Regions from separate parts of the Homo sapiens genome. Here region 1 is linked to region 2. Evidence: promoter capture Hi-C in human tissues and cell types (Jung and others, 2019). All regions are on one chromosome and are shown on one strand. Each heading gives the region's core, a stretch centred on a gene start or on the middle of the fragment in contact. The rest is flanking DNA. Distances are from core to core; before and after follow the strand shown. Region 1 overlaps MAPKAP1 (MAPK associated protein 1). Region 2 holds the start of ZBTB34 (zinc finger and BTB domain containing 34).

Region 1 (5,815 bases), core at 2,484-4,983, 1.4 Mb after region 2:
GGTGGGATTCTTCCAGCGGATATGCCCTCATCCTCTGACTCTCGAGTCAGGGAAAGGGACACCTTGGTGTTGATCAGATGTTACAGTTCTTAGATATTTTGCCATGTAAATTGTCAAAAATGCCATGCTCCTGAGAAGACCCCATTACTTTTCCTGGGCTTTGAACATGGACAAAGACATATTGGAGAAAGAGGAAATAATGAGAATTCTGTCACTAATCTAACTTCCAAGCAAACCCATAATGAACCATTGGTCCAGACCCTTAAGTGGTCATGCTTCATCCTGTAAAGGGTATTGGATTCACTTTGGGCACATATTTGTTCATGCATTCCCCAAACATTGATTGAGCCCTCCTCTGGGCCAGCCACTGTGCTGAGACTTAGCCCCACGTTATAGAGCACACAATTGTGATCAGTGCTGTGAAGGGTAGAAAAGAGTGCATAGCAGGGGACCAGAGCAGGTGAGAAGAATGAGAGGCTTGAGTAAGAAGAAAAAGGAGTTAGTCCAATAATGAGTAAGAGAAGAATGTTCCAGGCCAAGGGACTGCTCATCTGAAGGCTTTGAGATGAGAAGGAGCTTGGGGTGTTTAGGAATGAATAAATGGAATGGAATGAGGGAGAGTGTGCTGAAAGATGAGACTGAGGGATAGCAAGGGTCTAAGATGCAGAGCCTCGTAGGCCCCGCTTCCATGATCTGCTCTTTTTCGAAATTCTACAAACCTGAAACTGTTTCTTTCTGACTACCTCATAAAACAAGATTACCTTGATTTATTGAAGGGGGTCTGAAATCTCCATGTGGAAAGTCCTCCAGCCTGGCTGGCTCTGGCTCCAAGAGTTTAATCAATTAAGCACTGACAGCAAAGATCCCTACCCCGGTGGTAGCATGGCAGATTCTAGTGAAGGGTATATCCTACTGCGTGATCCCGATGGCTTTAAAGAGATTACTGCAGAGCGGTGGGCAGGCGGGGGGCATGAACGTGTGTGTGTGTTTTAGTATATCACCTATTGATTGTTTTTTAGAGACCAGCAAAAATAACTAGTAGCCAAAGGGAAGTGTTTAATAGAAGAGAAGTTTTGGGCTTATGGGGCTTTGGGGACTTAAAAGGCCTCTGGAAAAAAAAATGTGATGGATGCAGAGCGCTAAGGAAGAGTTTTCTCTGTGACTCACTTATGCATCCAGCTTTAAGTCTTACCGAGGGAGTGGAGAGTTAGGTTTTATCCCTGATTCCTTTGCTCTGGCATGGCCAGGCGTGACTGTGTTCTCCTTAGATACCATTACAGCCCATGGAGTTATGCATTTCCAGCCCATCTGAGGAACATTTTTACTCACAGAGGTTGTGTGGTGGTTAAAGGTGCAATTTTGGAATTAGACCTGGGTTCAGTTCCTAGCTCCAGCTTGTACTGTTTGTATGACTACTGTAGCAGAATGACATTCTGAGTCTCATTTTTCTCACCTGTAAAAAGAGGATAATATCCAACTTAAAGAGGCATTGGGAAAAATGGAATGAGATGACGTCTTTAAAATGCTGAGCATCGTGCTGGCATGCGTTAAGCACTTAGTGTGTGTTAGCCACCGTCACAGTTGTTGAGGCAGAACCCCTGTCCTTGACAAACCTAGTCTGTTGGGGAGTCTGAATGGAAAACGAGGAAAGGTATGTTAGGTGCTGTTAGCCAAGGTAAATACAAGGGGTGGTGTACAAACCTCAGGTGCTGTTAATGGTTAACCTGTGTTGCATCACACTTCACTTGTTCCATCAGCAGCATTTATTGAACATCTACTGTGTGACCATGTGCTTTGTAGAATGGGATGTTCCTGCCCTCAGGCTCCTTGTCTGGAGGGGAGTGCAAATACTTACCATGTAAGATACTTACCAGAAGAACCTTCAATAAAGGGCTATAATGCTTTAGGAGAGAGACAGGGGAGGTTCCATTTGGACTAGACCTTGAAGCATATAAATTTTAGAGCATAAAGGACATTCTGACCAAATGGTAGAACCTGAGCAGAGTCCAGTTTAGCTGAAGCAGGGCTTCTGCGTGGGGAGTAGCAATAAGACTTCAAGATAGAGTGGAGCAGAGAAGGGTTTATGTACTTCTCATTGTCAGTCACTTGTACTATTTTACTTAATTGTGTGCCAGGTGCTGAGCTAGATACTGCTCCACTTTTGAAGAACTACTCCCACCCCCACCATTTTCTTTTCCACCATTCCGCTTCACACACTGTGCCAAAGGCAAACACTTGGTGTTCCCTGTGTAGGTCCTCATGCTTTGTGGACTTTATGTTTTTTCCTATATTCCTCCATGGATTGCCTGTCCTCCTTTCATCATCTGGGAACACTGCCATCCCCCTAAATTCCGGAAGCACTAGCACAGCACCTGGCATATGGCTGGAGCTAAGTAACTGCTAGTCTAGAAGAAACAGTCAACAGGATTGTGCTATGGACAAAGGTGAGGATATAACAGAGGCCACTGATCTTCCAGTTGAGTTCTAGAGTTGGCATAGATCTTTTTAGAGAAGAGACACTGAAGTTGCTTTAATTTATAACTAGATTGGGGCCTTTTAGACTTGGTGTAAGACTCCTTGAACCATAAAATGAATGTTAAAGTCCCATGCAGTTTGTATCTATGAGTACAAGGAATCTTCCAGTAATATACGGTGAGTTCATCTGAGCTATGATTTAATGATTAGTCCTATTTGTTTGAAATAAAGTCATATAACTCTAAGTGTCTCCCTCAGTTCCAATTAAATCACATCTATGAAAACACTTTTAAAACTATAAAACAGTATTTATAATTAGCCTTGGTCTGATCACCTGAAAGTAAACCTATTGCTTTTATGTGTGTACAGGCTTTGCAGCTGTGTTTGTTGTCAGATTATAACACATATACACAGCTATAACTGCACTTTCGTTTCCCATTATTATTGTCCAAATAGATATCAGGGGCAATGAAAACATGGCATTATAACCAATAAAGTCAGCAGTTCTCAAACTTTTTGGTTTTAGGACCTCTTTATACTCTTAAAAGTTATTGAAGACCCAAAGAGCTTTTGTTTTGTTTTGTTATTTTGAGGCGAGGTATTGCCCTGTCGCCAGGTCTCGCCCAGGATGGAGTGCAGTGGCAAATCAGCTCACTGTAGCCTCAAACTCCTGGGCTCAAGTGATCCTCTCATCTCTACCTCCCGAGCAGCTGGGACTACAGGTGTGCACCACCATGCCCAGCTGACTTTTTTTTTTTTTTTTTTAACTTTCAGTAGAGATAAAGTCTCACTATGTTGCTCAGGCTGCTCTTCAACTCCTGGCCTCAAACAGTGCTCCCGCTTTGGCTTCCCAAACTGCTGGTATTACAGGTGTGAGGCACTGCACCTGGCCAAGCTTTTGTTTATTGAGTTACATCTATTAAAAATTGATTAATTTTAAAATATTTATTGAAAAACAGTAATTTCATTAATGTTAATGACAGTTTTATGTTTTTTTGTTTTTTTTTGTTTTTTTGGTTTTTTTTGAGATAGGGTCTCTGTCACAAGGCTAGAATGCAGTAGTACAATCACAGCTCACTGCAACCTCCACCTCCTAGGCTCAAGCGATCCTCCCACCTCGGCTTCCCCAGTAGCTGGGCCTATCGGAGCACACCACTAAGCCTGGCTGCTTTTTTTTTGTATTTTTTGTAGAGATGGGGTTTTGCCATGTTGCCCAGGCTGGTTTTAAACTCCTGGACTCAAGTAATTCACCTGCCTTGGCCTCCAGAAGTGCCGGGATTACAGGGGTGAGCCACCATGCCTGGCCCAAATGACAAATTTTATGAAAAGTAACTATAATTTCTTTAAAAAAAATTTTTTTGAGACAGGGTCTCACTCTGTTACCCAGGCTAGAGTGCAGTGGCGTGATCACAGCTCACTGTAGCCTCAACCTCCTGGGCTCAAGTGATCATCCCACCTCATCCTCAGTAGCTGGGAGTACAGGCATGAGCCACCAAACCCAGCTAATTTTTGTATTTTTTGTAGAGTCAGAGTTTTGCCGTGTTGCACAGGGTGGTCTCAAACTCCTAGACTCAAGCAATCCACCCACCTCAGCCTCCCAAAGTGCTGGAATTATATTCATAAGCCACCGCACCTGGCCTAAATTTTTTTTTTTTTTTTTTGAGACGGAGTCTTGCTCTGTCGCCCAGGCTGGAGTGCAGTGGTGTAATCTCAGCTCTCACTTCAGCCTCCGCCTACTGGCTTCAAGCGATTCTCCTGCCTCAGCCTCCAGAGTAGCTGAGATTACAGGCATGCCCCGCCATCCTCAGCTAATTTTTTGTATTTTTATAGAGACGAGGTTTCACCATGTTGGCCAGGGTGGTCTCAAATTCCTGACCTCAAGTGGTCCGCCCACCTTGGCCTCCCAAAGTGCTGGGATTACAGGTGTGAGCCACTGCACCTAGCCAGGCCTAAAATTTTTAATGAGAAGAGTGTCATTATTTTATTATATTGCAAGTTTCTGTAATGTCTGGGCTTATAGAAGACACCTGGATTTTCATATCTGCCTCTGCATTCAGTCCGCTGCAATACATTGCTTTGGTTAAAGTATGTGAAGAAAATTTGGCCTGACACAGATATGTTGTTGAAAAAGGGAAGAATATTTCAATAGCCTTTTCAGATAATTGTGGGTATTAATTTTTGTTACTATACCAAAACTCAAATGATAGTTTCTATTTTGTTGTTGTTTTTTTGTTGGTTTGTTTTGTTTTGTTTTGTTTTTTGAGACAGAGTTTCGTTCTTGTTGCCCAGGCTGGAGTGCAGTGGCGCAATCTTGGTTCACTGCAACCTCTGCCTCCCGGGTGTAAGCGATTTTCCTGCCTCAGCCTCCCAAGTAGCTAAGATTACAGGCGTATGCCACCATACCCAGCTGATTTTGTATTTTTAGTAGAAACGGGGTTTCACCATGTTGGTCAGGCTGGTCTCGAACTCTTGACCTCAGGTGATCCACCCACCTCGGCCTCCCAAAATGGTGGGATTACAGGTGTGAGCTACTGCGCCCAGCCAAGCTTTTTATTCCTTTGTGCACTTGTAAGAGAATGGACATGAAAAAAGTAAGTCATGTCTTGCTGTTGTTATAAAAATAGTATTGCAATTATGGACCCTGAAGGGGACTTGGGAATTCCCCACCACCACCACCACCATAGGACCCAGTGTGCACTTTGAGAACCACTAATTTAGAATTTACAGTTATTCGACTCAACAGTCTATTACAGTGCTGTTGCTGTAGGAGTGTGGTGAGGTAGGCAGGGCAGGAGCAGCCTTTAACCACTTGAGGGAAGGGAAAGGAGAAGGCACGTGGACTCCAGAGTCCAACAGATCTGTCCCGGTTTCACCTTTCCTAACAGTGGAACCCTGGGCAAGGTTTTGACCCAGTCTTGACACTTTGAGTGACAGTTTGAATCTCTATCTCTGTACTCTTATATTCCATGTTCTTTCTAATGTTATTAATCCCCAAGGCTGCCTCCCAGCACCTTCTCTTTCTTTCTTGGCTGCAGGCCCTAGACTCCACCTGCCTCCTTCCTCAACTCCTCTCTGCTTCCCTTTGCCTGCCGTGGCCTCTTCTTGCCATTCTTCACTGAAGACAGGTGTGAGGCCTCATTCCTCAGTTCTCCTTTCCTGATTTTGTATTCCCGAGACTTAAGCTGCTTCTCCTCCTGGGTTTTCTGCTTGTCCTCCATACCTTCCTACATTGTGATTGTCATTCTTCTGGAGCCTTGTTGTCAGTCCATTTGAGCTGTGGTGCTCAAGTCACTATTAGGCCCCACCCCAAAATTTGATCTATCACAATACATCTTTGAGT
Region 2 (5,951 bases), core at 2,692-5,191:
TTCTTACTGCATTAATTCATGTGAGCCTGAAAGAACATTTTTATCCAAACTGTTACATTTCCTACCAAGGCGTTAACATTCTCCAGGTCTGCTCAGATACACTAATTCCAAGAGGGTGCGATTTGTCTTTTAGTCAATGCAAAACATCATCAGAAGCTTCTTCTGAGCTTTCCAAGCAGGAGAGGAATGGCCTCTTTAATTTTACTAGCAATGACAAGGACTAACGGTCAGTAGGCTCCTACTGTGTACAGTATGGTAAGTAAGCTCTTAGACGACACTAAGAGGCTGCAGTTATCCCCATTCTACAGACGAGGAAGCAAACCCAGAGAGGCTGAGAAACTTACCCAAGGTCACTCAGCTAATGACTGGCTGAGCCAGGATTTGGACCTAGATTTGTCAGTCTCAGACTCAGAACTCTTATCTCTTATAAGAGTAAGATTTTAATCCAGGCATACTGGTGAGATGCAGGATTTTTATTGGTGCTGGATTCTTACTGATCAACTCCGAGTAGAAAGAGAATTCTCATTTAAGGATGTTCCACCACACAGACAAAGTCAGGCTGGGTCTGACACTGTGATGATTAAGGGGTCACAATATGTTGTACTTCAAGTGGTTTGCAGTCATTTCTTTGCAAAATGTCCCTTATTTTTACTTCTGTCAGTGAAGTAGGAAAAAAGATGTTTCATATTTTAATCATTAATTGAGAGGATTTGTTTCAGATAAAATAAGCTTTCTTAAGGCAAATAACTAAAAAATAGTAAGGCACAGCATCTTATCTGCTTACTGCTGGCTAGCATTTCAGGGGCACTGGCCCTGGAAAATACATTAAGTCCTGCCTCTTATGACAAAAGGATTAGAAAAGCTCACCTTGACTTGCATTCTTCCATGAGGTTTTCCTTGCCATCAACATCAACCAGAAAATAACCATTAGAAATTTAACTGCGTTCAGTTGATGACCTTCACTAAGCTAAATTCAGCAGTTTGTCAGCTACAAAACATTAAATAGACACAATTAAGAAGTTTGAAAAACATTAAGCAGAATTTAAACTAAAGTAACATGAACATTAACGGGAATAAAACGTAACTAGATTCATGGTACTGACATTTTAGACAAGTGCTTCAAATGGAAGGCAAAAGTGGGGGGACACAGCGGTGCAGAAATCCAAAACTCAGTAGGTACACAGTTCAGCAGCTTATCATTTCTCCACCTTGATAAATGTACACCCAATAATGACAATAACAATAATGAAAATGTACTAAGCAGTTACTAGGTGCTGCACATTTTTCTACTTCGTTCCATTTTCGTTTACAGTTCATTGGATTTTATTATCCTCCACACTGCAAATAAGAAACGGAGGCTCAGAGGCATTAGATAAATTGCTCAACTTCACAGAGCTGGTAAGCAGACTTGCTAGGATTCAAACCCAGGTCTCTGATTCCAAAGCTGCTGTTCTTTCCCCACAGCCTCCGAATGAAGAATCACATGACTTTTACCTTTTCCCATGATCAGAGGGAAACGTTTCAAAGTTTCAAAGATTCGTTTTGTGCTTTCTGCACCCTAAGAGAGCAAGCTGAAAACATCCACCTTGAATGGTAGCATTACATATCACTTATCTATGACACAGAAAGCTGATAAAAACAGATTCTCCTTAAAAAAAAAAAAAGGCAAATTACAAAACAAAACAAAAAGTTGTTTACCAACAAAAATCAGGAAGTATTTGAGTACCTATTATAGAAGTCCAGCCCCAGTATTAGATACTATAAGGTCTCCGAGAGGAGTATTAAGACACAATGCCCTTAAAAAAACTCCCACTCCAGTTGGGACAAGAACAAGTTCAACAGCCAAGGAACAAGTGCTGAATCCGAGTGCCACAAAGCCATGGGGGCAGGGAAGTCAGGGAACACCCTCTGGAGGAAGTATATCTGCAGCAGGGGCTTGAAGGAAGTGAAATGGAGAATTTGCACAGAAAAGAAAAAGGAGGCCAGTGCTTCAGAAGGGGGAACAACAGAAGCAAAACCCAAGAAGCCGTAACTAACTCAGTTCTGCAGGGGACAGACTTGGAGAAGCAGAGAATAAGGTTCAGGTAGGTGGGGTGGGGCCAAACCACGGAGAGTCTTGAAAAGACAGGGTGGGCGGTGGCTGGACATACCGTGGCAGGCAAGAGGCCACTACTCAGCTTTGAACAGTGGTATAACTGCCGTGGCCTCTTAACTGATCTCCTGGCCTCTAGCTTCTTCACCAATGCCTTCAGTAGTTTCAACTTTGACCTAGTGTTTGAGTTGAGGAACTAGCCGCGGCCCACCTCTCCTCCTACTTCCCTCCTATATGAACCCTTCTCTGCCAGGAGACTGGTCTATTCACTAACTCCATAGGATCACTGGGCCTGATTCCTCTTTTCCTATCTGAATGCTACTCATCCTTTAACACCCGGCTCAAATCCCGCCCCTCACTAAACCCTCCCTAACCACTCGGCCTACAGTGACCTCCATCTCTCCTTCTTAATTCTACAGCACACAGCCTTGTCTCATCAAAATTACCTTTTCATAAGTAATGTCTCAGCACCCTGTGTAAAGCTGCCTGGAGACTGTAAGTGTGCCTTCTACTACTTTCCCACCACATGGAACAGCATCTTGCCATTTAATAAGCAAGCAAGCACTCAACTATTTTTTGACTTCCTATAGTAAGTTTGGCTTTAGCATAAAGGAAGGATGGGGGAGGGGGGAACCTCTGGAGTCAGCGACCAGCTTAGAAGCTGTTGCAATAATCCAGATGTGAAGCAAAGAGGGCCTGGACTAGGGAACAAAGAGAAAATGGGCAAATATAAACAACAAAAAATTCTGCATGCAAAAACTCGGCGGAATGTGATTAACTACTACTAGGGACAAAAGCAAGGGATGAATGAGGATTAAGGTGAGGTTTAGAAAACGCTTCTTGAAATCATTTTAAAGCCTGTCTGAAACAAAATGCAGTAAGTGGCTTAAAAAGTCCACACTGACAAAGTCTTCAGCGAAACTGCCCAGTATCTTGAATCAGGGACAGCCCTTCCAATTTGAGACATACACGGAATGGCAGAGCCAGAAGGGTTCTTAGAGAGTTAAATGAAACCCTCAATGATCACATGGGGAAACTGAGTCCTAGCATGGAAGGGGCTTGCGGAAGGCCTCAAGACAGAGACTCCCAGACGAGTGCCGCCCTGAAAGCACAGCCACTTGGCCTAGAAGGGCACTGTTTACAACCCCGGTCAGCCCCAGCCCAGCCCTCCGCAATGGCAGGACCAACTGAGCGCGAGTGGCCACGGAGACGTCTGGGGCCAAGCGCAACCCGTCGCCGCCGCCTGTTTACCTGGAGGAAGGCGGTGGCGTGAGGCAGCGGCTCCGTGGCAGCCACCCGAAGGGCCGACCCCTGGCCCGGCCGGCTCTCCAGGGAACTCAACCATCTGCCCTCCCTCCCCGTACAAAAGGGAGCGCCCCCAGGGCTAGGGGCCCGGAAGCTGGGGATCCCGAGACGCCCCGGGCGGAGGCTGGGAGCCCAGGGCAGCTGCCCGAGCGCGACCCTCAGCCGGGCCAGCGGCGCCGGGACTCCAGGACCGAGCACAGCTGGCCCCTCGGGGACGCGCGCCTGACCCCAGCAGGTGCCCGGGGCCTCCGGACCCCGCCCGGCCTCGGCTCCCGCCCGCGCCGGCCGCCTGCCCGCGGGACTGACCAGGCGCGGAGGCTCCCGCCCCGCCGCGCCCAGAGGGAGCCGGACAGCGGCCCGGGGACTGCCCCCCGCCCCGCCTGCCCCGCCTGCCCCGCCCGCGCCTAGCCCGCTGCTCGCCGCCCCCGGCCAGCGTGCCTCACCTGTCCAGAGCGCCGCGCTCACATCGCCCGCCCGCGGCGCCCCCTCCGCCGCCGCCGGCGCCAGGCCAGTCCCCGCCGCTCCGGCTGCCGCCCCAGCCCGCGCCCCCCGCCCCCGGAAGCGCTTCCCGGCCCCGCCCCCTGGACGCCCGCGCTTCCGGGCAGGCGCCAACCCGGGTGGTGGCGTTGCGCGGCGGACCTCTAGCCAGGGCCCGGGGTCCTGAGTCCCGCCCGGTTGTCGTCCCAGAGCCTCGCCGCGGGCTAGCGGCAGCCTTGGTCTGGACCCCGGAGTCCCGACTCCGGGAAGCGGCGTCGGCTCTGCCTTCAGCCCGCGCTCTCCTCGGCGCCCCCTGCTGGCGGGAGAAGGGCGGTGCAGTGGGGCGCGTTTCAGGGGCTCCCGGAATCGAACGGGTGGGAGAGAGCCCAGGACCCTCGACCCCCCCAGCACTGGGGGGCCTGCCCCCAGCCCAGCCCTCCCTTCCAAGACCCTCCCTCCTGCATCTCTTCAGGCGCATGCCACGCACCCGAGCTGCTCCTGGCAGGGCAGCTGAAGGCAGCAAGGTGCAGTGGTTAGCAGCAGGGCTCTGGGGACCTGTCATAGGGGGTCTCTTGACTTACCACCTTGGGCAGGTTTTCTCTCTCTCAAAACGGAGGTGGCTCCCGCCTGTAATCCCAGCACTTTGGGAGGGCGAGGCGGGAGGATCACTTGATCCTAGGAGTTTGAGACCAGCCTGGGCAACATAGGGAGGCCCCATTTAAATTTTTAAAACTTAGCCAGGCTTGGTGGCACATGCCTGTAGTTCCAGCTATTGGGGAGGCTGAGGTGGGAGGGTCGCTTGAGTCCGGGAGGTCGAGGCTGCGATGAGCCATGATCGTGTCACTGTACTTCAGCAGTGGTGAAAGAGCAAGACCCTGTCTCAAAAACAAAACGGAGGTGAAAATTCCCAACTCACTGTTATAAAACCCATGTCACAGAGCATGCCTCAAAAAATGTGCATTTCCAGACCCTTGGGGACACCCCAGTCTTCAAACCGTTGGGTGGGAGTGGGAGCCTCACCCAGCGTTTTCCTCCCAGCATTAGACCAATGTAACACTCTTTGAAGAGCTTCCCTTTGCATTTTGGTGGAGTCAGTAGTTGTGGCAGAGGTTTATTTTCCTTTTTCTGGCTTTGTAATAAAAATAAACTAGGAGGCAAAGATACCAGCTCCTCTTCAGGATAGAAAGCTGCTGAGACTTCCTGATGTTACTTCATCCTTTGCAAGCAGGAACTGTCTCTCCAGGATCTGTCCAGTGGTCATCCTCCAATAGCAACAGCTACCCTTTGTCAAACACTCCATGCAGGGCACTGTGTAGACACTTGACAGCCATGACCTCATTTAACACAACCTAAGGAGGTGGCGATCTATTCCCATTTTAATCCAAGAGGGAACTGAGGCTCAGAGAGGTTGAGTGACTTATCCAAAGTCACACAGCTAGTAAATGGCAGACTTGGGATGAACTCCCTTGTCTCTCTGACTTCTTATAGCAACAGAACATCCAAGCATAGGATTTTAGGCAACCTGCCTATAACTGCAGGCACCTGGGCAGACAGGTAGTCTCGCTCTTGAATTGCTATTGCACTTGAGTTGTTTTCTTGAGATCTGTCCCCAAGGGTGAGATACGTGTGCACCCAGGGCACAGGAATACATCATCTTGTCAGGTTTCCTCCGGACTGCTGAGCTGATTCTTATGCCCAGAGGTTTTCCTACAGATCAGCCTTGGGCCTCATCATTTTAACTGATTTTTGCTAAATTCGTTGATAAGAGTTAGGGTCTTCTTGGCTGTGACACAATATTTGCATATCATTAAGTACTATAAAGACTAAAATAGTTCCTGAGTTTTTGACCCTCCTCTGCCAAGTGTCTCAAAGTTGTTGGCCCTCTGTCTGTCCATTGGATGCTGGGTATTTCCCTCATAGTTTATATTTACTCTCCCACCTAACTGGGTCACCAAACTCATCATTTATATATTTTTCCAGCCCCTTGCTTTTTTCGTTCTTGTTGTTTAGCTGATTGTCATGGTCTCTACTAATTTTAGTTAAAAAACTGTCACTCCTCCACAGTTGAGGTGCATAT

Evidence for each region. Contacts are between HindIII fragments. The study calls those that stand out against the background at their distance.
Region 1: a contact is called between a fragment that was not itself captured here and the fragment with the promoter of ZBTB34 in region 2, in 1 of the 25 tissues and cell types used here (dorsolateral prefrontal cortex).

The regions. Positions count from the first base shown.
Region 1 is chr9:125,489,461-125,495,275 of GRCh38, reverse strand. The region is part of intron 8 of MAPKAP1 (MAPK associated protein 1); the gene reads left to right. Among named protein-coding and RNA genes, the nearest start is that of MAPKAP1, 210 kb to the left of the region's middle. RefSeq lists an enhancer at 1-264. The HindIII fragment of the contact is 6,822 bases long and covers 323-5,815 here.
Region 2 is chr9:126,858,629-126,864,579 of GRCh38, reverse strand. ZBTB34 (zinc finger and BTB domain containing 34) reads right to left here and starts at 3,941. Exons shown (of 2, transcript NM_001099270.4): 1 at 3,841-3,941. RefSeq lists silencers at 3,423-3,642, 3,753-3,802, 3,813-3,892, 3,923-4,322 and an enhancer at 3,001-3,798. The HindIII fragment of the contact is 9,457 bases long and covers 444-5,951 here.